Regions from separate parts of the Homo sapiens genome. Here regions 1, 2, 3, 4 and 5 are each linked to region 6. Evidence: promoter capture Hi-C in 16 types of primary human blood cells and fetal thymus (Javierre and others, 2016). All regions are on one chromosome and are shown on one strand. The core of a region is centred on a gene start or on the middle of the fragment in contact, and the rest is flanking DNA. Distances in the headings are between cores, read along the strand shown.

Region 1 (3,606 bases), core at 1-2,500, 350 kb before region 6:
CAACAACTCGAGGTTTAAGAGAAGCTATGAGAAATGAAGGTAAAAGTTTAGGTTTAAAGTGAGAATACTATACTATATAGTAAACCTATTTTGGCCTAAAAGCTATTTAAATTTAAAATGCCTTTTACCAGTTGATTAGCAACATTAAGAAATATATTATTTCTTTATTTCTGGCTTTTTTTCCCTCCCCCACAATTATTTAATCCAGCAGTCCGCAAACTTTTTGGCACTAGGGATCAGTTTCATGGGCAGTGAGGAGGATGGTTTCGGGATGAAACTGTTACACATCAGATGATCATTCTTTTTTTTTTTTTTTTTTTTTTTTTGAGATGGAGACTCGCTCTGTCACCCAGGCTAGAATGCAGTGGTGCAATCTCGGCTCACTGCAAGCTCCGCCTCCTGGGTTCAGGCCATTCTCCTGCCTCAGCCTCCCGAGTAGCTGGGACTACAGGTGCCTGCAACCATGCCCGGCTAATTTTTTGTATTTTTAGTAGAGACGGGGTTTCACCGTGTTAGCCAGGACGATCTCGATCTCCTGACCTCGTGATCCGCCCGCCTCGGCCTCCCAAAGTGCTGGGCTTACAGGCGTGAGCCACCGCGCCCGGACAAGATCATCATTCTTATAAGGAGGGCACAACCTAGATGCCTCACATGCACAGTTCACAGTAGGATTCGTGCCCCTGTGAGAATCTAATGCGACCACTGATGTGACAGGAGATGGAGCTCAGGCAGTAATGTTCACTCGACAGTCGCTCACCTCCTGCTGTGCAGCCCGGTTTCTAACAGGCCACAGGCCAGTACCAGTCCACAGTCCAGGGGTTGGGGACTCCTGATTTAAACTGTTCCTTCCACATAGTGTTCTCTGATCTCTAAAATAAAACACATATTGGGCCAGATAGTCACTATCTGAATATACTCTTCTAGAAATTCTTCTATAGTACCAATTACCCCTTTAATAACAAAATTTTCAAACTGAGTAAACCCATTAGTGGATCATGAAATCTACTTAATGGGCCCAATCAGTACTTTTTCAAAAAGTGAACTGGAATACAATATGATTTATGAAAGAGTGTTACATGTATGTGTTGTTTCCCGAACCTCTTTCAAGGAGAATACGTTTTATGCATGTTTGTAGGTTTGTGAAGAAAGCTTGAAAACTCTACTGCCTTAATAGATCATTTGTAAAAACTAACATTTCAAATTTTTTACACTCTAAAAGTACAGCATGCCTGTTAAATACTTTAAATGACAACTCAGTTACATTTTTGTTCCTCATATAGGTATTGAATTTTCTCTGCCTTTAATAAAAGAAAGTGGCCATAAGAAGGAGACAGCATCTGGAACAAGCTTGGGATATGGGGAGTATGTGATTAAAATAACTTTATATCATCCACTGACTTATGGACTCATGAAATAGATTTGCACAGGAACAGCTTGTGAAATAGGGACTCTAACTGTAGCAATTTCCTAGGGAGCAAGCCATCAGTGATGAGGATGAAGAGGAAAGTTTTTCCTGGCTGGAAGAGATGGGTGTGCAAGATAAAATTAAAAAGCCAGACATACTTTCTATCAAGCTGTATCCTTTCAGTTGTTGTTAACTAGAATTAATTTTCATTGAATGACGTTAGTGAGAAGTTTAACATTGGCAGTTTTATATGATTATAATCTTAAATTATCTTCAGGTCATATTAAAACTAATTCTCCATTGTAATACTAAATAAGCCCCTAAGTATCAACAAATGGTGAACTATTAAACCTTTTTTAATCAAAACGTTCAATTATGATTGTGGGAGAATAGGTGTGTTTTGACTAGAGAAGAAATTAGGTTTAGGTGTCAGTTTGTAGCAAATTCAGATTGTTAACATTTTGATTGAAACATATGCCTTATGATTCGGTAAAGAGAGGTAGCAAGAGGATTTCCATTTCATTATGGAGAAAAGGAGTCTCAGGTGATTCAGAATCAAGATAACTGCTTTCCACATTAGGTGAGATTTGCTTTTGCAATTTCCTTGATTGTCATCTTCAGGCGTAAAGAGAAACATGAAGTACAAATGGATCACAGACCTGAATCTGTTGTGTTGGTAAAAGGAATCAACACCTTTACATTGCTCAATTTTTTGATTAACTCTAAGAGTTTAGTTGCTACCTCAGGTCCACAGGCAGGACTTCCTCCAACCCTCTTGTCCCCTGTTGCTTTCCGAGGTGCCACAATGCAAATGCTTAAGGTAATAAAAGTCTGCATAACCTAGCTTTTAAGAAGTACTTTACTTTGATAGGATAAATTCTTGATTTAAAAAAAAACCTCCTAGCATTTTTACTTGGTACATATTTTCATTTTGCTTTCCTCCCATTAAAAAAAGAAACAAAAATTATATAAGACAGTTATATCAAAGAAATTATGTGGAAATATATAAATTATATGAAATCCTTTTTATTTTCTTTTCGAGATGGAGTCTTGCGCTGCTATCCAGGCTGAATGGAGTGCAGTGGCGTGATCTCAACTCACTGCAACCCCTGCCTCCCGGGTTCAAGTGATTCTCGCGCCATGCCTCAGCCTCTTGAGTAGCTGGGATTACAAGCACACACCACCAAGCCTAGCTATTTTTTTTGTTTTTTTTTTTCTTGTTTGTTTTTGTTTGTTTGTTTTAAGAGGGAGTCCCACTCTGTCACCGGCTGCAGTGCAGTGGTGCGATCTCGGCTCACTGCAGCCTCCAACTCTGGGGTTCAAGCGATTCTTCTGCCTCAGCCTCTCGAGTAGCTGGGGTTACAGGTGGGCACCACCACGCCCAGCTAATTTTTGTATTTTTAGTATAGACGGAGTTTCACCATATTGGCCAGGCTGGTCTTGAACTCCTGGCCTCTTTTTAAATTATACGAACATTTATTTTCTTTTTTTGGTTGGGGAGACAGGGTCTTGCTGTAGTGCAGTGGCACAGCTCACTGCAGCCTCAACCATGTGGGCTCAAGTGAAATTCCTGCCTCAGCCTCTCGAGTATCGGACCACAGGACTGCCATGCCCTGCTTTTTTTTTTTTTTTTTTTTTTTTTTTTTTTTTTTTTTTTTGAGGTGGAATCTCACTCTCACCCAGGCGTGTGCCACCACGCCTGGCTAATTTTTTTTTTTTTTTGTATTTTTTGTAGAGACGGGTTTTCACCATGTTGGTCAGGGTGGTCTCGAACTCCTGACCTCATGATCTGCCCTCGGCCTCCCAAAGTGCTGGGATTACAGGCATGAGCCACTGCACCTGGCCGCCCTGCATTCATTCATTCATTCATTCATTCATTCATCTATCTATTTAGAGACGGAGTCTTGCTCTGTCACCCAGGCTGGAGAGCAGTGGCTCAATTTTGGCTCACTGCAAACTCTGCCTAACGGGCTCAAGCGATTCTTCAACCTCTGCCTCTGGGGCTCAGGTGATTCTTCTGCCTTAGCTTCCCAAGTAGCTGGGACTATAGGCTCACACCACCATGCCTGGCTAATTTTTTTGTATTTTTAATAGAGACGAGGTTTCACCATGTTGGCCAGGCTGGTCTTGAACTCCTGACCTCAAGTGATCTGCCCACCTTGGCCTCCCAAAGTGCTGGGATTATAATCATAATAAATTAT
Region 2 (3,726 bases), core at 1,056-3,555, 320 kb after region 6:
TATTACACTGAGCCCTGGTGTCAGCCCAAGGTGATGACATTGAGCTAACAATGTTCTCAAAAAAAGCATTTTAATGTGGCGCCCCTACAGGAATTAATGGTTAATTATATGTGTCATCCAGGCTACGGTGCCCAGTTGTCTTGTCAAACACTACTCTAGATGTTGATGTGTAGGTATGTTTTAGATATGATTAACACATAAATCAGCAGACTTTGAGTAAAGCGGATGACCTTCCTTAATGTGAATGAGCCTCTTCCAAACAGTCAAAGGCCTTCAGAGCAAAGACTGAGGTTTCCCAGGGAAGAAGGAGCTCTGTTTCCAGACTGCAATATAGAAACCCTGCCTGAGTTTCCAGTGGATTTTGGACTCAGGTTTGCAACATCTACTCTTCCCTGAGTCTCCAGCCTGACACCTGCCCTGCAGATCTCAGCCTTGCAGCCCCAATTGTGTGGACTAATTCCTTCAAATAAATTTCTCAGTGGATGGATGGATAGATAGATAGATAGATAGATAGATGATAGATAGACAATAAGATGATAGCTTTTTTATTGCTTCTGTTTCTCTGGAGAAAGGGTAATAATAATGTATAGTAAACACATACATTCTGTGAAACCCTTTTAAAATTTTGCCATGTAATCCGCTAGCAAGAACAAGTTTTTAGACAAGCAAGAATTAGTTTGCAGCTCTCCAAGATTGTCCATCCACTTTGTATCTAAAGACTTATTTTGAAAAACCAGATGTTTCTCAGTGAGATTCTTTGTATCAATAAATTAGTTATATGAGTCAGTCATGTCCAAAACGGCCATCATTTTACCTAGTCTGAAGTACATTGGATGGCATTATAAGTTAAACCTTTGTTTCTCACAGAAAATGGTATTAAAGCACAGAGATAATTTTAAGTTTTAAAATCTTAAATTGGATTACAAATAAACTACCAATTTAGTAGAGAAATTAAGAAAGCTCTGTTGCCATTTTCTGTTTTTTATAGTTTTAAACCTGCTTTATTATTATTTTTTAAAGTATCACTTTTTAGAATGAATCTAAGCCTTATTGTCCTCATCTGCTAAGTCCTTTTTTTAGTGAGTTTTTTCACAATGTCCACATAACATCAAATAACTGAAGTCCAGTCTGCCCATCCTTTTCTATGCTCCTTATGGGCTCTTCAAATACCACCAAACAGTTTTGGAGAAAGAGCACATAAGTTCTGTCCTTGTCTCCATTATCAGCCTCAGTGTATTTCCAAATTAAACAGGGACATCCTTCTTATCCCAAACTTTGAAAATATTACTTTGCAATAGACCAACAATTTAATATTTTCTCTATGGCAGGCAATGATAATAGCCACCTTGTAGGCATGCGTCTAAGGAGACTACCTCCTACCATTTCTACAAAGTCAAAAGTCTCATTGTTTCTACACATTTTGAAAGAAATGAAAGCTGACCAAAAGCTTTCATTATGAAATCATCAATATCCCAGATAAGCAAATCACACCCCCTAAATATATGACAATTAGCAGATAAGAGTTTTCCATTTTCATTGGTAAGAAGTTTATAGACTGAAAATAATTTGCCAAAATTTACCTTTGCATTCTCAGTCATATCTGTAGGTAGATTAACAAAGTCTAGTTTTTATTTTTATTCTTTTTATGTATTTATATATATATATTTTGTAGTGATGGGGGGTGATATGGTTTGGCTGTGTCCCCACTCAAATCTCATCTTGAATTCCCATGTGCTGTGGGAGGGACCAGGTGGGAGGTAATTGAATCATGGGGACAGGTCTTTCCCATGCTGTTCTCATGATAGTGAATAAGTCTCATGAGATCTGATGGTTTTATAAAGGGGTGCTTCCCTGCACAAGCTCTTTTCTCTTGCCTGCTGCCCTGTAAGACATGCCTTTCACCTTCCACCATGATTGTGAGGCCTCCCCAGCAACGTGGAGTTGTAAGTTCATTAAACCTCTTTCTTTTGTAAATTGCCCAGTCTCAGGTATGTCTTTATCAGCAGCATGAAAACAGACTAATACAGGGGGTCTCACCATTTTGCCCAGGCTTGTCTTGAACTCCTGGCCTCAGGAAAGGTTCCCACTTCAGCCTCCCAAGGCACTGGGGTTAGAGATGTAAATGTCTAGTTTTTATTCAGATAAGGTATCAGTAATCTTTTGGTTTACATTTTCTGAGTTTATAAACTGAGTGCTGCAGAAACACTGTTTATATTCTGATAAGTGCTGTTTATATTCTGAGTTTATAAGAGCTTATAAACTCAGAGCTGCAGAAAGCATGATTGTGGGGAAGATAGGAAAAGATCAGTTCTACCATGTAAGGGACCAACACATCTCTTATTGTTTTTATTCATCTCTTTTGTTTGTTTGCAAGACATTTCAGTTGTAACCTCTGAATCAGGAAATATAGCCTTACTGAATCCTATAAAATGATCAAAAGAGTGATTTGATAAAGTGATTTGTGTGGTATGACTGAGCTAATGCAGCAGCTGCTATTTTTGACTGGACATTTTTTGGTAGACAACGTTTTTTGATTGACTTAGGGATATCGGTTTCATCTTAGAATTGTGAGATGTCGTCTCCACATGCACTTTCACATCCCCTTCTCCACTGTGCCTGGCTCAAAACTCTTTTCTGCATATTGAGCAGCGTGCTCTGTTTTGATTATTTACCTCTCTAATCTGGTTGTACATGTCCTTCCATATGTCATTAAGATAACACAGTTGGTTAGCCTTCTTTTCCAGTGATGCCTTGGTTTACGCCAGCATTGGTATTGTAATCACTATCTTTTTTAATTATCTGAACTCTTAGAAAATATGGCCACAATATTTACAACTGCTAAAAATTAAATGAGCACTATCTTGATACAAAGGACAACAGTTAGTTCACAGGTAAAGTCAAAGACAGACTCTTAATGCCTGTGATTGCAGTGTACTTGTGACGCACACTTAGTTGCAACCTTGGGAAAGTTGCAACCGTGGATGATCCACTATTCTGAATGACAAGTTGTGGTCCCCAACCTGAGCAGTCAGGGGAGAAACAGCAACAGGGGTTATGGAAGGTGGATCATCTGCACTGTACCCATTTACAGCCAAAACAGTATTGCATTCAGCCCCTATTTTTTGGGCCACCATATGGTTTTTACACATTTCCCCCAAGCTTCTGTGCATATCACCGAATTGATTTTCCAGGATTTAGGACTTTAACTGCTAAAACCAGGATAATCCCAGGCAATCTGAGACGATTGGTCACCCTACCAACGAGGAAAAATTGTAGTTTGGAGGGCAGGAGGAAAAGAAATTACAGCTCCCTCCCTAAGGAATTGATATAAGGCTGGCTTCATTCCTTGACCAAAGCACCCAGGACTTGTCACGTGGCTTTCTCTCTGTCTCCATGTTCCAGTAACTGCTCTTTCCCTCTGCACTTCAGGCCCAGGGACTGTAACAGAGCCCTGCTCTTACTAGCCCAAGAAACCTTCACTGTCCTTTGTGGTTTCTCTAGACCCTACCCACTCTTAACTCGTAAATAATAATTAAATAATTATTAAATGAATAATTATTTATTATTTATATTTTCATATATTTTCATTATAATTATACTATTTATATGTTATAATATATAAAATATTTCCATATATAGATAAAATATAATTATAAGTTATATAGTTATATTTGTTATAATTATATAAATATAACTATATAAATTAATTATATAAGTGTAATTAGG
Region 3 (3,536 bases), core at 405-2,904, 400 kb after region 6:
GGGGCCAGGCTATCTGGGTTCCAGTCTCAGCTCTATGACTTACTAGCTGTGTGAGCTTGGACAGTTTCTCCCTACTCTTTACTTTCCACGTATGAAAAATAAGGAGAATAATGGCACCTTCTCACAGGGTCATTGAGAGGATTAAATGAATAATATGCATAAACTGTTTAAAATACTGACTGACACTTATTAAGTGCTATATGGGTTTTTGTTGTTTTATGAGTAGTACTGGTAGTTGTTATAAGGGACAGATACTTTCCAGTTGGAAGATATATGTTTTTAAAAGTTCAGAAAGTCTAGTAATTAAGGGAAGAAATGGATAATCAATATTGAAAGATAGCAAAAAAGAAAAATATAATAAAGAAAGGACAAATTAAGAATTTGTGAGCCCCTCATGTAAAAAACCAGACTAATGTAAATAAGCTGAATTACTCTATTAATCATTTAATCTGTGTATGTCTCCCCCACTGACCCCCAAGCTGTCCCTAACCAAGAATACCATGGGATTGTGTTCTTGTCTGCTTTCTTCCTGCTGTACTTCCACATTCTGAAATGCATTCCACAGGCAGGTGCATCTTGGGTTTCCAATAAAAATCAACCGACCAAGGGGGCGGAATCTCCAGGCTTGAACCCTCAAATACAGACAGGATTATGTGTTCTTTTTCTATTGGGAGGCATAGTTTTCTGGTAGGATACTGGCAAATCAGAAACAGCAAAACAGAGTCTTCTCAGGAGTTCAATAGACTTTGCAGCAAGACTCTTTTATATGCTCAAAATTTAAAATCATTCATGCACTTCTTCATTTTTAAAAAATAGTCTTTTAAGTTTATAGTATTTTCTTATGTTTTTCCAATATTGAAAAACTGCAATGTACAGTATTCTTATTCTCCTGCCAAAACAAATAGCATATTATTGCAGCTGTAACATTTTATGTCTTTGCCACAATAACTGTGGTTTTCCGCAGTAATTTTGCTATTATGCTATGATTTTTATTAGAAAATGTATTACTGCCATCTTAATTTTCTTAGCCAGTTTAACACATTTATGGCTTTTCTGCTTTGGCAAAGTGGTATTTCAAATACTGAAGAATAACTTTTTTAAATTCTATAAATCCTGGATGAAATTTAAACCATAAATTTCATTTCTGAATAATCAAATCAGAACATTACTGCAACTGTGTCATCGCCTAAAGCCAGTAATATTCCATGAGTTTGTAATAACATTATTTTGAGCAAGTCACACAAGGGGTAGTTTAGTGATCTGAAATGTCCAGGGTTTGCTATTTTTTCCCCAATAGTCCTTTTTTTTTTTTCTAAGATGGAGTCTCACTCTGTTTCCCAGGCTGAAGTGCAGTGGCATGATCTCAGCTCACTGCAAACTTCGCCTCCCGGGTTCAAGCTATTCTCCTGCCTCAGCCTCCCAAGTAGCTGGGATTACAGGCTCCTGCCACCACACGCAGCTAATTTATGTATTTTTAGTAGAAGACGGGTTTTCACCATGTTGACCAGGCTGGTCTTGAACTCCTGACCTCATGATCTGCCCTCCTCAGCCTCCCAAAGTGCTGGGAGGCGCAAAGTGCAGGCGTGAGCCACCATGCCCAGCCTCTTCCCCAATATTCTTGAAGAGATTTATAACAACACCGAATCTCAGATTTGATGGCTACCTGTTGAGAGAAATCAAGGAATGAGGAAGAATTTGAATGAGGAATGCAGGTGGCCTTTCTCGCCATCCTTTTGCCTAGTGGCCCCCTTTTTCACCAAGACAAGAGGCTGGTTTTTGTTTCTGGTTTTATCACATCAGACTCTGGCTCATAGCAAAAGCAGTCAGTCTCCTGTTGCTGCTTCATGGATAGCGCCTCTAACAGGCATTAATTTTTTGTTGTTGTCGTTATGGAGGAGTGTCAGCATACACTCTAATAGAACAGTCTGGAAAGACAAGTGTTGTTGGTAAACCCTAGGGACGTGAGAATCAAGTGTCACCAGTAGGTGGAGGACTTGATCAGAAATACACATGCCTTGGGGCCTATACGGAGTTGCCTGCTCAGCTATGGTTTGAAGCAGAATCTGAGGGGATGCTCATGGTCCAGTTTGGCAAATATCAGGGTGTGGTTATTTAGATGAGGCACAAGACTAACTGGAAGTGTGGGACATAAGTGAAAGATGGCACCAGGAGGTTGAAACTGTCCCTTAAACTGAGTCCTACAGGCACCCTCCCTTGGGTGACGGAGCCCCAGTTATTCCTGTGCACCCTCATAGTCTTCTGAGCCAGGGCCCTCTCCCCAGCTAGGTGGCTGATGCCCCAGAACACACCGTATGTGAAACTGTCAGTGGATTCCAGGCACCCGTCCTTTAGTAGGCAGCTAGCAGATCCCCAGCTTAGCAGAAGGCACAGGTTTGGTGGAGACTCAGAAACTAAGCCCAGCAAGTTCCCTCATCAGTGGCTCTCCACCTGGATACATAAACAACTTTTACAATGGTTGTTTAAATAACAGAGCTAGTTCGTCGCCCAGATCTCCTGTGTGTCCTCTCCGTCTTTTTTTTTTTTTTTTTTTTTTTTTGAGACGGAGTCTCGCTCTGTTGCCCAGACTGGAGTGCAGTGGCACGATCTCGGCTCACTGCAAGCTCCGCCTCCCGGGTTCACGCCATTCTCCTGCCTCAGCCTCCCGAGTAGCTGGGACTATAGGCGCCCACCACCATGCCCAGCTAATTTTTTGTATTTTTATTAGAGACAGGGTTTCACCGTGTTAGTCAGGATGGTCTCGATCTCCTGACCTCGTGATCCGCCCGCCTCGGCCTCCCAAAGTGTTGGGATTACAGGCGTGAGCCACCGCGCCCAGCCTCCTCTCCCTCTTAGACATATATTTTGCACACTGAGCTATTTGCACAATCAGGATTAACAAGCAAATAGCTGATGGAGGAAGGGTGAATTGGCTCTCTCTGCTTCAGCTGGGACATCCGTCTTCTTCTGCCCTTGGACATCAGCTCTCCAGCTTCTCGGGTCTTTGGGCTCAGACTTAGACTCACATCATTGGTTCCTCTGGGTCTCAGGCTTTTGGGCTGGGACTGAAACTATACCACTGGCTTTCCTGGACCTTCAACTTCCAAATGGCAGATGGAGGGACTTCTCAGCCTCCACAATTATGTGAGCTAATCCCTCATAATAAATCCCTTTCTTTACATCTATATATAGCCTATCAGTTCTGTTTATCTAATACATTTCCTTTCTGATTTCTTCAATTACTTCTTCTTTACAGCTTTAATGAGACATAATTCAAATACTACACAATTCACCCATGTAAAGTGCAAACTTCGTTGGTTTTAGTGTATTCACAGAATTGTGTAACCATCACCACAATCAATTTTAGAAGCTTTTCATCACCCCAAAAATAAACCCATGCCCATTAGCAGTCATTCCCCATTTCATCTCACCTCCAGCCCTAGGAAATCACCAATCTATTTTCTGTCTCTATGGATTTTCCTATTCTGGACATTTCATATAAATGAAATCATACCATATGTGGTGCTTTCACACTGGCA
Region 4 (3,768 bases), core at 1,256-3,755, 300 kb after region 6:
TTCACCATGTTGGCCGGGCTGGTTTCAAACTCCTGACCTCGTGATCCACCTGCCTCGGCCTCCCAAAGTGCTGAAATTACAGGCATGAGCCACCACGCCCGGCCAGGTCAAACACTCTTTATTCCATAATTGAATGCATATATATGTACTTACGTATATTTAATATCTATTATAATTATATCTTAGATATAAATATATATTTATGTATTTAATATTTTATTATACAAATTTCTAACAAATTAAAAATAGAGGAAATAGCACAAATTACCTCTATTTACCCATCCTTGGGCCACAAAAAGCAGAAATTCCTGGCCCTCTGATTTTACTTACACTGCCACCTAGTTCTCTTCAAGTACCAAGTTATTTTGAAGCAAATCCCAAACATTATACCATTTCATATGTACATATTTAGTATATGCCTTTAAAAGATAAGAAGTCTGTATTTAAACAAAATGATGGTCATGCCTGAAGAATGAAAAATAATTTCAATTTCATCAAATAACCATTCAGTGGAACTGAATGTGTTTTTGTGCATATTTATGTAGGCATGTTCAGGATTTTGTTTTATTTTGTGTGGTTTCAGGAGCCAAATCTACAAGTTCCAACGAAGTCCTTCGTAGATGCAGGGAGTACTAATAATGTCTCAGTTGGGGAGCTTGCCCCCAGATGGAGCTTGGAACAATAAAGTAAACAACACTAAGTGCCAGGCACTCAGTACATTGCTAAGAAGAGCTGTTGGTGCCTTTCAGTAAGAGGGTGAGAGAGAACGAAGAAGTTATCTTTGGGAAGCCCGACCCTGATCAGAAAGACTTCATCAAGGAGATGCGGCATAACCTGGGGCTTAAACTTAGGGATATGCAAGAAGGAGAAAGGGATGATGTGAGAACAAAGAGAAAAAACAACTCACTGGGAGGCTGAGGCTGGCAGATCACTTGAGTGCAGGAGTTTGAGACCAGTCTGGGCAACATGGTGAAACCCCGTCTCTATAAAAAAATACAAAAATTGGCTGGGCATGGTGGCACACACCTGTGGTCCCAGCTACGTGGGAGACTGAGGCAAGAGGATTGCTTGAGCCCAGGAGGTCGAGGCTACAGTGAGCTGTGATTGTACCACTGCACTCCAACCTGGGCCCTGTCTCCGAAAAAAAAAAAAAAAAGAAAGAAAGAAAGAAAGAAAAGAAAAAGAAAAACCAACTCATTTGACTTTACAAGCTAATTTCCATGAAGACAGGACACATGGGGCAGTTTGAGTTTGTGTTAATCTCTTATTCATATACTTGTCTACTTGTCAAACTTGTATTGAAATCTAGATAACACCCTGATTAGATTTAATGTGTGTCAGGGTGGGTGGGGGGAGATGGTACAAGAAATAGAGACACAACGTTAGAAAGAGGCATTGAGAAGCAAGCGCTCGGTGTTTGTTGCGTAAATTCTCATAGCGGGTGGTGACGTGATAAATCTGAATAATTTTTATATATAGTAACAAAGCAACTTGGTAGTTTCATGAAACAAATTGTCCTGTACTGAGGAGGGACCTAGAATAGAGGCAGACTCTAGCACTTAGGGTGGACCAACCCAGAACTGTTCCATTGCCAAATAGTAGCCTGCTGGTCCCTGGAAGTGATTTTTAGTTAATTCTCATTCTGCTATACTACTCTATAATTTTGACCATTGATCTCTTCCTTTTATTAAAATTTTTTAAAATGAAAGTTGTAAATCCACAGAGTTTAGGGTTAGATTGTTTGTGGGTATTTTTGGCTTGTTTGTTTGTTTGTTTGAGGCAGGGTCTCTCTCTGTTGCCCAGAGCTGGAGTGCAGTGACATGATCCCGATTCACTGCAGCCTCACTGTCCCAGGCTCAAACAATCCTTCCATCCCAGCCTCCCAAGTAGCTGGGACTACAGGCATGCACCACCATGTCCTGCTAGTTTTTTTTTTTATTATTATTTTTTGTAGAGATGGGGGCTCACTATGCTGCCAAGGCCAGTCTCAAACTCCCGGCTCAGCAATCCTCCTGCCTCAGCCTCCCAAAACTTTGGGATTACAGGCGTGAGTCACCATGCCCAGGAAGATAGATTTAAAGCTTATGATAGAGAGCAGTTCCTCAACTCTCCATTTTCCCTCTGCCATTTTCTAATTCTAAAGCAATCACTTTCATTTTAATGGATTCTTTTGATATTTACATCCATATATCTATAATAACATGACTTCATTACTATTTCTTGGTGTTTTCATCTTATGCATTGAACATTGACTTCCTCTACAGATAAAAAAGGATTTTACTGTTTCACATAACATACAACATATACACACAAGAGCATGCACAAGTGCTTGTGGGCGCACACACACACATACACACACACACACACCCCTTACCTCCATTCTTCCTCTATAGTTTCACTGAAATTCTGCAGATTCATATTCGATGCTCTTCAAGTAAATTAAAGTGGAGGTCAGGCCTGAAGAATCTCTGAGCAGACAAAACAAGTTAGGCCTCTTAAGTGACCTAAACCTTGCTTGATTGCAAACATAAGCAAAACTTAACTTCAGATTTTTCTTGCAAATGCCTGTATTAAAGAAAAACATAATTTAAGCCCAAACAATCAGAAGTAGCCAAAAACTTGTAATTATTTAATTAGGGATTTTCCAGTGGGACTGATATGGTTTGGATATTTGTCCCCACCGAAATCTCATGTTGAAATGTAATTCCCAGTGCTGGAGGTGGGGCTTGGTGGGAGGTATTGGATCATGAGGGCGAATCCTTCATGAATAGCCATCCCCTTGGTGATGAGTGAGTTCTCACTATAAGTTCACGTGAACTCTGGTTGTTGAAAAGTGTGTGCACCTGCCCTCCTCCCCCGCCGCCATGCCTGCTCTTGTCATATGACTTACTGGCTTCCTCTTCACCTTCCGCCACCAGTGGAAGCTTCCTGAGGCCTCACCAGAAGCAGATGTCAGTACAACACTTCCTGTGCAGCCTGCAGAACCATGAGCCAATTAAACCTCTTTTCTTTATAAATTACCCAGCTTCAAGTATTTCTTTATAGCAATGCAAGAATGGACTAACGGACATAGACCAAATAAGGCAACTGGATAACTATATCCAATCAAATTTTTCTTTGCTTTACTTCTGTATCTGTCCTATAAAAGTCTCCTGCTTTGTGGTCTGTTGGTGGAGCTCTTGAATACTCCTCGTTTGGAGCTGTCTGATTAATGAATCATTGTTTGCTCAAATATATTCTTTAAAGTTGTGCTTCAATTTATTTTATTTTTCTTTTAGAGACAGGATCTTGCTCTGTCACCCAGACTAGAGTACAGTGGCACGATTATAGCTCACTGAATTCTTAATGTCCTGGGCTCAAAGGATCCTCCTGCCTCAGCCTCCCAAGTAGCTGGACTACAGGTGTGCACCGCAACTCCTGGCTAATTAAAAAAAGGTTTTTGTATAGTCAGGGTCTCGCTATGTTGCCCAGGCTGGTCTCAAATTCCTGGCCTCAAGTGATCCTTCCACCTTGGCTTCCCAAAGTACTGAAATTACAGGGGTAAGCTGGAGCAACCAGCTTCAATTTACTTTTTAACAATGTTTACATTGTTATAATTCTTTAAATACTGTGAATCACTGAACCATAAATACTACATTTATTTTTCCATTTCTGAACAACTTATGCTTTTCCTGAGGTTAAAAATTCCCTTTTTTACCTGACTTACTTTCTCTAATCCATATAGGTAGATATTTTGTTTTTTATAAACAAAGACAATTTTTTTTGTTT
Region 5 (3,997 bases), core at 638-3,137, 290 kb before region 6:
CTGTTTCCTAGACAGATTTATAAATACTCTGATTTCTTTGTTCTTGTCTTATCCCACCAGGAGGTGAAACAGCAGAAATGCCTGACATGTATCCCCCTGGAGAGTATGACCTAGCTGGGTTTGCCGTTGGTGCCATGGAGCGAGATCAGAAACTCCCTCACCTGGAAAGAATCACTGAGGGTGATGTTGTTGTTGGAATAGCTTCATCTGGTCTTCATAGCAATGGATTTAGCCTTGTGAGGAAAATCGTGGCAAAATCTTCCCTCCAGTACTCCTCTCCAGCACCTGATGGTTGTGGTGACCAGACTTTAGGTAAACTCCCTCATGTTTAAACTGTCCTGCTTGGAAATGCCTGAGCAAGCATTTAGTGGTTTTAGTCTCTGATTACTTAGAGCTAAAAGGGAATGAATTACCTTGGTTTGCTACTTGGTCATTATTGTAGAGCTGGTGTCATTCTCCAGGTTGATTTTTATGTTTTGGTTTTCTATTCATAGGCTAAGTTTTTGTCTTCTCTCTTCAACATGCAGGGGACTTACTTCTCACGCCTACCAGAATCTACAGCCATTCACTGTTACCTGTCCTACGTTCAGGACATGTCAAAGCCTTTGCCCATATTACTGGTGGAGGATTACTAGAGAACATCCCCAGAGTCCTCCCTGAGAAACTTGGGGTAGATTTAGGTAAGATCACTAAAACGAACTTCTGTTCAGAAAATTGCTGAGGAAAAAAATGCATTGTGCGAGAAAACTATGGGTAGTTAATGTACACATGATTACACATGGAAAATTCTTAATCATTGGGGGTTTTGGGAGGGAAAAACTCGACCCTTTTCTATCTCTTTTTGCTTCATTATCTGTATTTATAAGACATAAAATATTGTCATGTAATTGGCTTACATAAAGTTGAAGTACTCGATAAGTAGGTCCTCCAAGGGGATTGGTAACTTCAAGCTCTATTAAGATGGAGCCCTACACACCAGGAAAGGAAATGTTAGCTATTAAGTAATCCATATTCGAGATAAAAGGACCTAAACCAAGGCATAGAGAAGGGAGGCACATTGGAGAATCATTTTATGCTTAGAAGTAAAAAGAAGTCTCAGGTTTCTAGTTAAGCAGGTGAGTAGGCGGTAACATCATTAACATAGGAAGAAGAGTAAGTTTGGAATAGAAGGTTTTTAAATCTTCAGTGTGTTTATTCCAAGGTGACTGTGAGCAGAAGTTGAAGTCATGCTGAAGATAAATTGGGTGATTATTTGCACGTAGTAATAGTTATAGCCAAGAGAATGAGGGAGACCAAAAGGTTGTTTCTCAAAGTAGAGTGACTGAAAAGAACAGTCCAAAGTAGTGGGTAAACCATGTAAAAGTATTATCATCAAACCAACATGGGATTTTTTTCTTTTCTTTTTTTTTTTTTTTTTTTTTTAGACAGAGTCTCACTCTGTAGCCCAGGCTGGAGTATAGTGGCGCAATCTCAGCTCACTGCAAACTCTGCCTCCTGGGTTCAAGCGATTATCCTGCCTCAGCCTCCCAAGTAGCTAGGATTACAGGCACCCGCCACCATGCCCGGCTAATTTTTGTATTTTTAGTAGAGACAGGGTTTCACCTTGTTGGCCAGGCTGGTTTCGAATTCCTGACCTCAAGTGATCCGCCCGCCTCAGCCTCCCAAAGTACTGGGATTACAGGCATGAGCCACCGCGCCCGGCCCCAAGGTAGGATTTTAACGTGACACTGGTCCGCAGTGTCAGGTACAGCACAAAGATCTAGAATAAGCACTAGAAAAAGACCAGTGTATTTTAGAGTTAGGTCAAAAGTCAGTTTGCTGGACATAGATACCACCCACTAGATTGTTGTGGCAGAGTTGTGGAGACAGTGGGTAGAGATTTCTGTTTGAAGAAACATACTGGTAAAAGGGAAGTGGAATAATTTTATGCATGCAGCAAAAGTGAGGGACAGAGTCCTCCCTCCCTGTGTTCTTTTTTGTTTTTTGTTTTTCGTTTTTTTTTTTTTTTTTTTTTTTGAGTTGGAGTCTTGCTCTGTCGCCAGGCTGGAGTCGCCAGACTGGAGTGCAGTGGCGCAATCGCAGCTCACTGCAACCTCCGCCTCCTGGATTCAACTGATTCTCCTGCCTCAGCCTCCCAAGTAGCTGGGACTACAGGTGCCCGCCACCATGCCCGGCTAATTTTTGTATTTTTAGTAGACACGGGGTTTCACCGTGTTGGCCAGGATGGTCTCAATCTCTTGACCTCATGATCCACCCGCCTTGGCCTCCCAAAGTGCTGGGATTACAGGCATGAGCCACTGTGCCCAGCCCCTCCCTTCCTTGTTTTTGTAAAATAAAGTCAGAGAAACTTTTCCAGCTATAGTCAACTAATACACATTGATTTGAAGGAGTAGAAACTGAGGGAGTTTACATAAAATAACTTCTCTGTGAAGTATTAGTGAGATGATCAGGCCTGGGGTGGGAGCTTGAAGAGAGGAGTGGATAAAGCAGTCAAGGTCAAACAGGAGTGAGACAGTGAGCAGGACTGAAGGCACAGGTGAAGGTGAAGCTGCTCATGTAGTTTTTCTCCCAGAGCAAAAGCATGTATATAGCTTTGAAGCAAGAACAGAAAAAAAATAGATTAGTTAGGTTGATCCAGCTGAACTAAGCAGGTATTGGGGTCATTCATTGGGGAGAAGCAGTCAGAGTGATAGAGGTGAGTAGATATGGTGAGCTAACCCAAGAGTCAGAGCGTATGTGAAGCTCGGAGAGAACTGAAGAGTCAGAGGTAGGTTGTGTGGAAGTGAGGAAATCGGCAAGGGAAGCTGGGAGAGTGGTCAGATGGGATTTCAGCCTAGTCAGGGAAGCAAAACAGACAGGCCAGGCTAGGCTGAGTGGGAGTCTCTTCCAGGTCCATGGACTGAGCATATTAAGGAGTTGAAGGATTCATAGGAGGGTGAAACTAGTGGTTCAAGACATTCCTTGGGTAGAAATGCTTTCTGGTGAGCATATATAAGAACCTTAATAAGTAGTTCATTCATCATCCTTTTCAAATAGTTAAAAAACAGTGGCCTGCTGATGAATGGGGAAAGGAGGCAGGACTGATTTGTGCATTTGCCAGTTTTTGTGGTATAAATACTCCCATCATAGCTGCTTTAAAAATGGCTGTTTAACAGTCTCTACAAGCTGGCTCTAGCACACCACTAGTTAAAAACAACATAGTAGTCACCTCATTAAGAAACTGAAAGTGATATAGCCATATTCCTGAAAGCAGTTATAGTTTGAGTTACACAAATGTCTGTATTCCAATAAAAGCCATTGCACAATTCCTTGCATCAGCCTCTAAAGTTTCTTCCAGGAATCATACTTTGACAACAGATTTAAGTAAGGACTTCTGGGGGTTTTTTTGTTTGTTTTTTATTGAGACAGAGTATCACTCTGTCGCCCCAACTGGAGTTCCGTGGTGCGATCACAGCTCACTATTGCCCCAACGTCCTGGGTTCAAGTGATTCTCCGACCTCAGCCTCCTAAGTAGCTGGGACCACAGGTAACACGCCACCACACTTAGCTATTTTTTGTATTTTTAGTAGAGACGGGGTTTCACCACATTGCCCAGGCTGATCTTAAACTCCTTGGCTCAGAGCAATCTGCCCATCTCAGCCTCCCAAAGCGCTGGGATTACTGGCATGAGCTACCACACCTGGCCAGGACTTTTCAACATTAAAATTACAACTTACATTATTCATGAAGTACTTGTTCATTTATAGAAGCTAGACTCTTAGTCTGCCAGTGTTTTTTCCTATAAATATTTTGTAAAACTTCACTAAAACAAGATCATAATTTGGTAATCTGCTACTTGCCCTGCCATTAAATATGTCATCACTATCTCCTTGTCTTAGTAGCATCATTTTTGATAACAAGTATTCCATTTTACAGATGTACCACTATTTAGTTTTAAGTTGCTATTTACTTTTAACTATTGAGAGCATAGTGAACAATGTAGTTACTAAATCTGAGG
Region 6 (3,937 bases), core at 1,342-3,841:
TGAAAACCAATGACAATGCTGATGGATATCTCCACGTACCAGATGATAAAACCCTGGCTTGTGGGGTAACTCGTTTTCCTGTTAGGGCCAGAGAAAATTTTCAGTGGCTCTGAACTCCTCCCCATCATACATACCTCTCTTTTTCCCTCCTTTGTTTTGTCTTTTCCATACCTCTAAGTCAGCCAACCTCCTCTGCCAATTACCTGTTTTTCCTTTATTCTTCCCTGAATTGCATAGCCCCCAGTTTCATTCTTCCAAAGGAAGAAGAAGGACCCTCAGGGCCAGTGCCGTCAAGCTCTGCTCTAACTCACTAATATTTCACAAATTATAAAATGCCCATTTTCTTTTAACATTTGAGAATTTCTGAAATCAGAATGCTTTCATTCTGGTGGCATGGCATAGCATGATTGACAGTGTTTTTTCTTACTTCATTACATAAAATGAAAGTGCATCTTATAAGCAATGGCATTTTAGTTTGGGTTTTAGCTTTGATAAAACATGATGATTGAGCCTGTAATACTAGCACTTTGGGAGTCCAAAGCAGGTGGATCATTTGAGGTCAGAAGTTCCAGACCAGGCTGGGTAACATAGTGGAAATCCCATCTCTACTAAAAATACAATTAGCCAGGCGTAGTAGCACACGCCTGTAATCTCAGCTACTCAAGAGGCTGAGGCAGAAGAATCGCTTGAACCCAGGAGGGGGAGGTTGCAGTGAGCCAAGACAGTGCCACTGCACTCCAGCCTGCGCGACAGAGCGAGACTTTGTCAAAAACCAAACCAAACCAAACCAAACCAAACAAAACAAAACATGATGATTGATAACGGAAGATGATACATACCATTGACTCTTGAACAGTTTGAAGGTTTATAAAGGTAGCAGAAAAAATGAGTCCAATGTGGCTTTGAGTGTGCAAGTGTGAGCCATGGAATATATATTTTAATAAATGTTTCACGTCTATGACAGTACCTCTAGGGTTATGATCCTTTTCATACTACTTTTTGAAATGACTTTTAGACAAATCACCATTGTCAAATTATGTGAACCAAAATCAGATTTTCTTTAACTTTTCAATAAATACATGAGAAACTTTAGAGGAAATAATAGGTAAGAAAAATGAGTCATGTACATTTTTGATTATCTAAAATTGTGGAAAACAACTTTATGAACAATAGAACTTACAAGTTCAAGTCATTTTCTGCGACAAACAGATCAAGCCTTATCAGCTATGCCCTAATTGCTAGGAGTGTTTATCGAATATTTTCCTTAGGGTAGATTTTGATAGAGTATCTGCTACCCCCTCACCCCCTCAAGCCTGCACAGGTGGATAGGGGGTGGGTGGACAGGATACTGAGAAACCTTGGCAAGCAGTGGGACTTAGCCCCTGGGCCAGTGAGCACACATGGGAAACTCCACCTCTCCCTGAGCCAGCTCCGGCACTTCTCACCACTGAATCAACGCCCAAGCATGCTATATTCGTTTCTAAGACTTCTTGCTAAACAAAACAAGGAAATAAAAAAAAAAATGTTAAAAGAAAGGAGGTGGGAATACTCAGAGTCAATATAACCATCGCTAACCAAATAAACGGGCTGATGGAGTCAACTCGCTACTGCGTGTAACGGATTGATTTGCTCAGGGTTGAAATGCAAGTGCCGATCGCCTCTCCATATTCGCGGAGTATCTTCCCAGTATCTCCCCTCTCCGACCCTGGGAGGGTGCACCCTTCTGTCTCCGCGGCCACGTCCCCTCGCCCCTTCCCCCTCCTGCCTCCACGCAGCGGATCCGGAGGGGTGTAGGCCGCTCCAGCCCCGGCTGCAGTCTGTGACCCTGACGCAGGTCGAGGGGGGCTAATCCCAGGGGACCTCAAGGGGGCGGGCTGGAGATCCCGAACCTGAGCACCCAGCTGGTGAGCCGGTTTTGCAAGGCGGGGTGGACCTGGAGGAATGTGACCCTCAAACTTAGCAACGACTCACATCTTGCAGTGGCAAATGCCCGGTATCCTGGGCATCCTTGGTGGGGTGGGGTGGGACGCGGAGGGGTGCAACGAAAGCGGACTCCCAGCAGGGGCGACGCGTGGAGGGCGCAGGACAGGGCCCGGGAGGGGTCCTGGGGTCGCAGGTGCGGCCCCGGGAGAGAGGAAGGGCGCACTAGCCGCATACTCAAGACGCAGAGGGAGGGCAGGAGGAGGAGGAGGAGTCGGGGAGAGCGAGAGGGAACCGGAGGGGATTCCGGGAACCGCTGCAGGGAGGCGGCGTTTTCCCTCCAGTCAGCTGGCCACGCGCTCCGCTCCCGCGACCCCGCCACGCTGCGTTACCTTTGCAGCTCTCGCCTTGCGGCTCCCGAGAGATGCTAGCCTCGGGCCCCAGCCGCGCCCGGCTCTGGGACCCGACGCTCGCGGTCAGGATGCGCCTCGCGGGCGGCCTCTCGGACAGAAGCGGCGGGCGGGGGACAAAAGCGGCCCGTGCGGCCGGGTGGTGGTCCGCGGGCTGCGCTCGGGGAACTGTTCGGCTCGCCGGCGGGATTCCTACCCGCCGGGAAGAAGCGTCTTTAGTGCGGGTGCGCGCGCCGAGCCCCGGCCTACGAGGAGCGATACGGAAGCGCGGGCGCCGCGCCGCCGCCGGCGCGGGGGCGGGGGCGGAGCCAGGGGCGGGGCCGGAGCCAGGGGCGGGTCCTGGGCCGCTGGCGGGGCTGGAGCAGGGCCGGAGGCGGAGGCCGGGCCGGGGGCTGGGCAGGAGAATAGAAAAAAGGTCCGGTCATTTACAATCGTCTGCTGCCGATTGTCAGCTCCTAACCAATCCCGCCTTCGCCGAGAAAGCTCCATAGGGGAAGAATTTGGGACTGTTTTGTTTACTGAAGTATCCTTAGGGGTTAGAATAGTGCCTGGCATTTAGAAGACACCCAAAGATGTGTTGACTGACTGAATGAATGAATGAACTAAAGAGTGAATGGGTTCTCTCCTGGCTCCCCCACTTGTTAATTGTATAAACCTGCATGATATAATTCTCCAACTAGTAAAACGAGGATAAAAATACCTACCATTGAGTAAATGTTGTAAATATCTACAACATTATCCGTTGTAGATTCTCCCCTCTTCTCCGCGGGTCTCTTCTCCATACTCCTACCCTTCCCTCGACCCCCCACTGATCAACGTGTTTCGGGATAGGCAGAAAGACAGATGTTCTTCATTAATTTGTCTGCTTGTTATTTATAGCCTGTCAACTTCTAAAATAGACTATGAGGCCGGGAGCGGTGGCTCACACCTGTTATCTCAGCACTTTGGGAGGCCAAGGCAGATGGACCATCTGAGGTCAGGACTTCAAGACCCAGCCTGACCAACATGGTGAAACCCTGTCTGTACTAAAAATACAAAAATTAGCTGGGCGTGGTGGCGGGCGCCTGTAATCCCAGTTACTTGGGAGCCTGAGGCAGGAGAATTGCTTGAACCTGGGAGGTGGAGGTTGCAGTGAGTTGAGATTGCACCATTGCACTCCAGCCTGGGAGACAAGAGCGAAACTCTGTCTCAAGAAAAACGAAAAAAAAAAGAAAATCCAAAACCAAAATAGACTATGAGGCAGCTTTCAAGTAAAATGTATGTATATTCTAAACATTACAGCTACTAAAATGGAAATGTTAATATCTTTTTGAAGGAGAGGGAAAAGATACACTAACCACCTAAATTGTTTTAACTGAGTATTTAATCTCTCGTTCAGCTTTCTGGCCTCCTAGGAAAGGGAGGAGGAGGATGTTTCATACTTTTTGTAGATGGGAAAAATGAGCCTTTTAATCTATGAAGTCAACCAACATTTGCTGATACTCCTTTAAGGCTAGGCACAAGGGTGATCATAAAGAGGATGTCACGGTCCTGCCTCTTATGTGACCCTTGGCAGAATTCCCACCAGCCCCATACGATCTGAAGGGAACTTATCTAGGATCCTATTT

Evidence for each region. The method cuts DNA at HindIII sites, captures the fragments that hold promoters and counts their contacts. A CHiCAGO score of 5 or more calls a contact.
Region 1: a fragment that was not itself captured here is called in contact with the fragment with the promoter of IFNAR2 in region 6 in 1 of 17 cell types (total B cells); the score reaches 5.9 in total B cells.
Region 2: a contact is called between a fragment that was not itself captured here and the fragment with the promoter of IFNAR2 in region 6, in 1 of 17 cell types (non-activated CD4 T cells). The highest score is 5.5, in non-activated CD4 T cells.
Region 3: a fragment that was not itself captured here is called in contact with the fragment with the promoter of IFNAR2 in region 6 in 1 of 17 cell types (M1 macrophages); the score reaches 5.5 in M1 macrophages.
Region 4: a contact is called between a fragment that was not itself captured here and the fragment with the promoter of IFNAR2 in region 6, in 1 of 17 cell types (non-activated CD4 T cells). The highest score is 6.2, in non-activated CD4 T cells.
Region 5: a contact is called between a fragment that was not itself captured here and the fragment with the promoter of IFNAR2 in region 6, in 1 of 17 cell types (neutrophils). The highest score is 5.1, in neutrophils.

The regions. Positions count from the first base shown.
Region 1 is chr21:33,579,921-33,583,526 of GRCh38, reverse strand. It overlaps DONSON (DNA replication fork stabilization factor DONSON), which reads left to right. Exons shown (of 10, transcript NM_017613.4): 5 at 1-39; 6 at 1,281-1,362; 7 at 1,472-1,576; 8 at 2,027-2,225. Among named protein-coding and RNA genes, the nearest start is that of DONSON, 7.0 kb to the left of the region's middle. The HindIII fragment of the contact is 198 bases long and covers 1,152-1,349 here.
Region 2 is chr21:32,908,454-32,912,179 of GRCh38, reverse strand. All of the region lies in intron 4 of LOC105377136 (a long non-coding RNA gene), which reads right to left. Among named protein-coding and RNA genes, the nearest start is that of LINC01690, 49 kb to the left of the region's middle. The HindIII fragment of the contact is 1,712 bases long and covers 1,450-3,161 here.
Region 3 is chr21:32,825,232-32,828,767 of GRCh38, reverse strand. No RefSeq gene overlaps it. Among named protein-coding and RNA genes, the nearest start is that of EPCIP, 13 kb to the right of the region's middle. The HindIII fragment of the contact is 3,431 bases long and covers 1-3,369 here.
Region 4 is chr21:32,925,652-32,929,419 of GRCh38, reverse strand. LOC105377136 (a long non-coding RNA gene) reads right to left here. Exons shown (of 6, transcript XR_937669.3): 5 at 2,375-2,468. Among named protein-coding and RNA genes, the nearest start is that of LINC01690, 31 kb to the left of the region's middle. The HindIII fragment of the contact is 843 bases long and covers 2,084-2,926 here.
Region 5 is chr21:33,513,672-33,517,668 of GRCh38, reverse strand. GART (phosphoribosylglycinamide formyltransferase, phosphoribosylglycinamide synthetase, phosphoribosylaminoimidazole synthetase) reads left to right here. Exons shown (of 22, transcript NM_000819.5): 15 at 61-312; 16 at 528-680. Among named protein-coding and RNA genes, the nearest start is that of DNAJC28, 24 kb to the right of the region's middle. The HindIII fragment of the contact is 9,220 bases long and covers 1-3,997 here.
Region 6 is chr21:33,228,592-33,232,528 of GRCh38, reverse strand. IFNAR2 (interferon alpha and beta receptor subunit 2) reads right to left here and starts at 2,591. Exons shown (of 9, transcript NM_001289125.3): 1 at 2,313-2,591. IFNAR2-IL10RB (IFNAR2-IL10RB readthrough) reads right to left here and starts at 2,591. Exons shown (of 13, transcript NM_001414505.1): 1 at 2,313-2,591. RefSeq lists silencers at 713-902, 2,125-2,174, 2,195-2,254, 2,315-2,774. The HindIII fragment of the contact is 6,332 bases long and covers 1-3,937 here.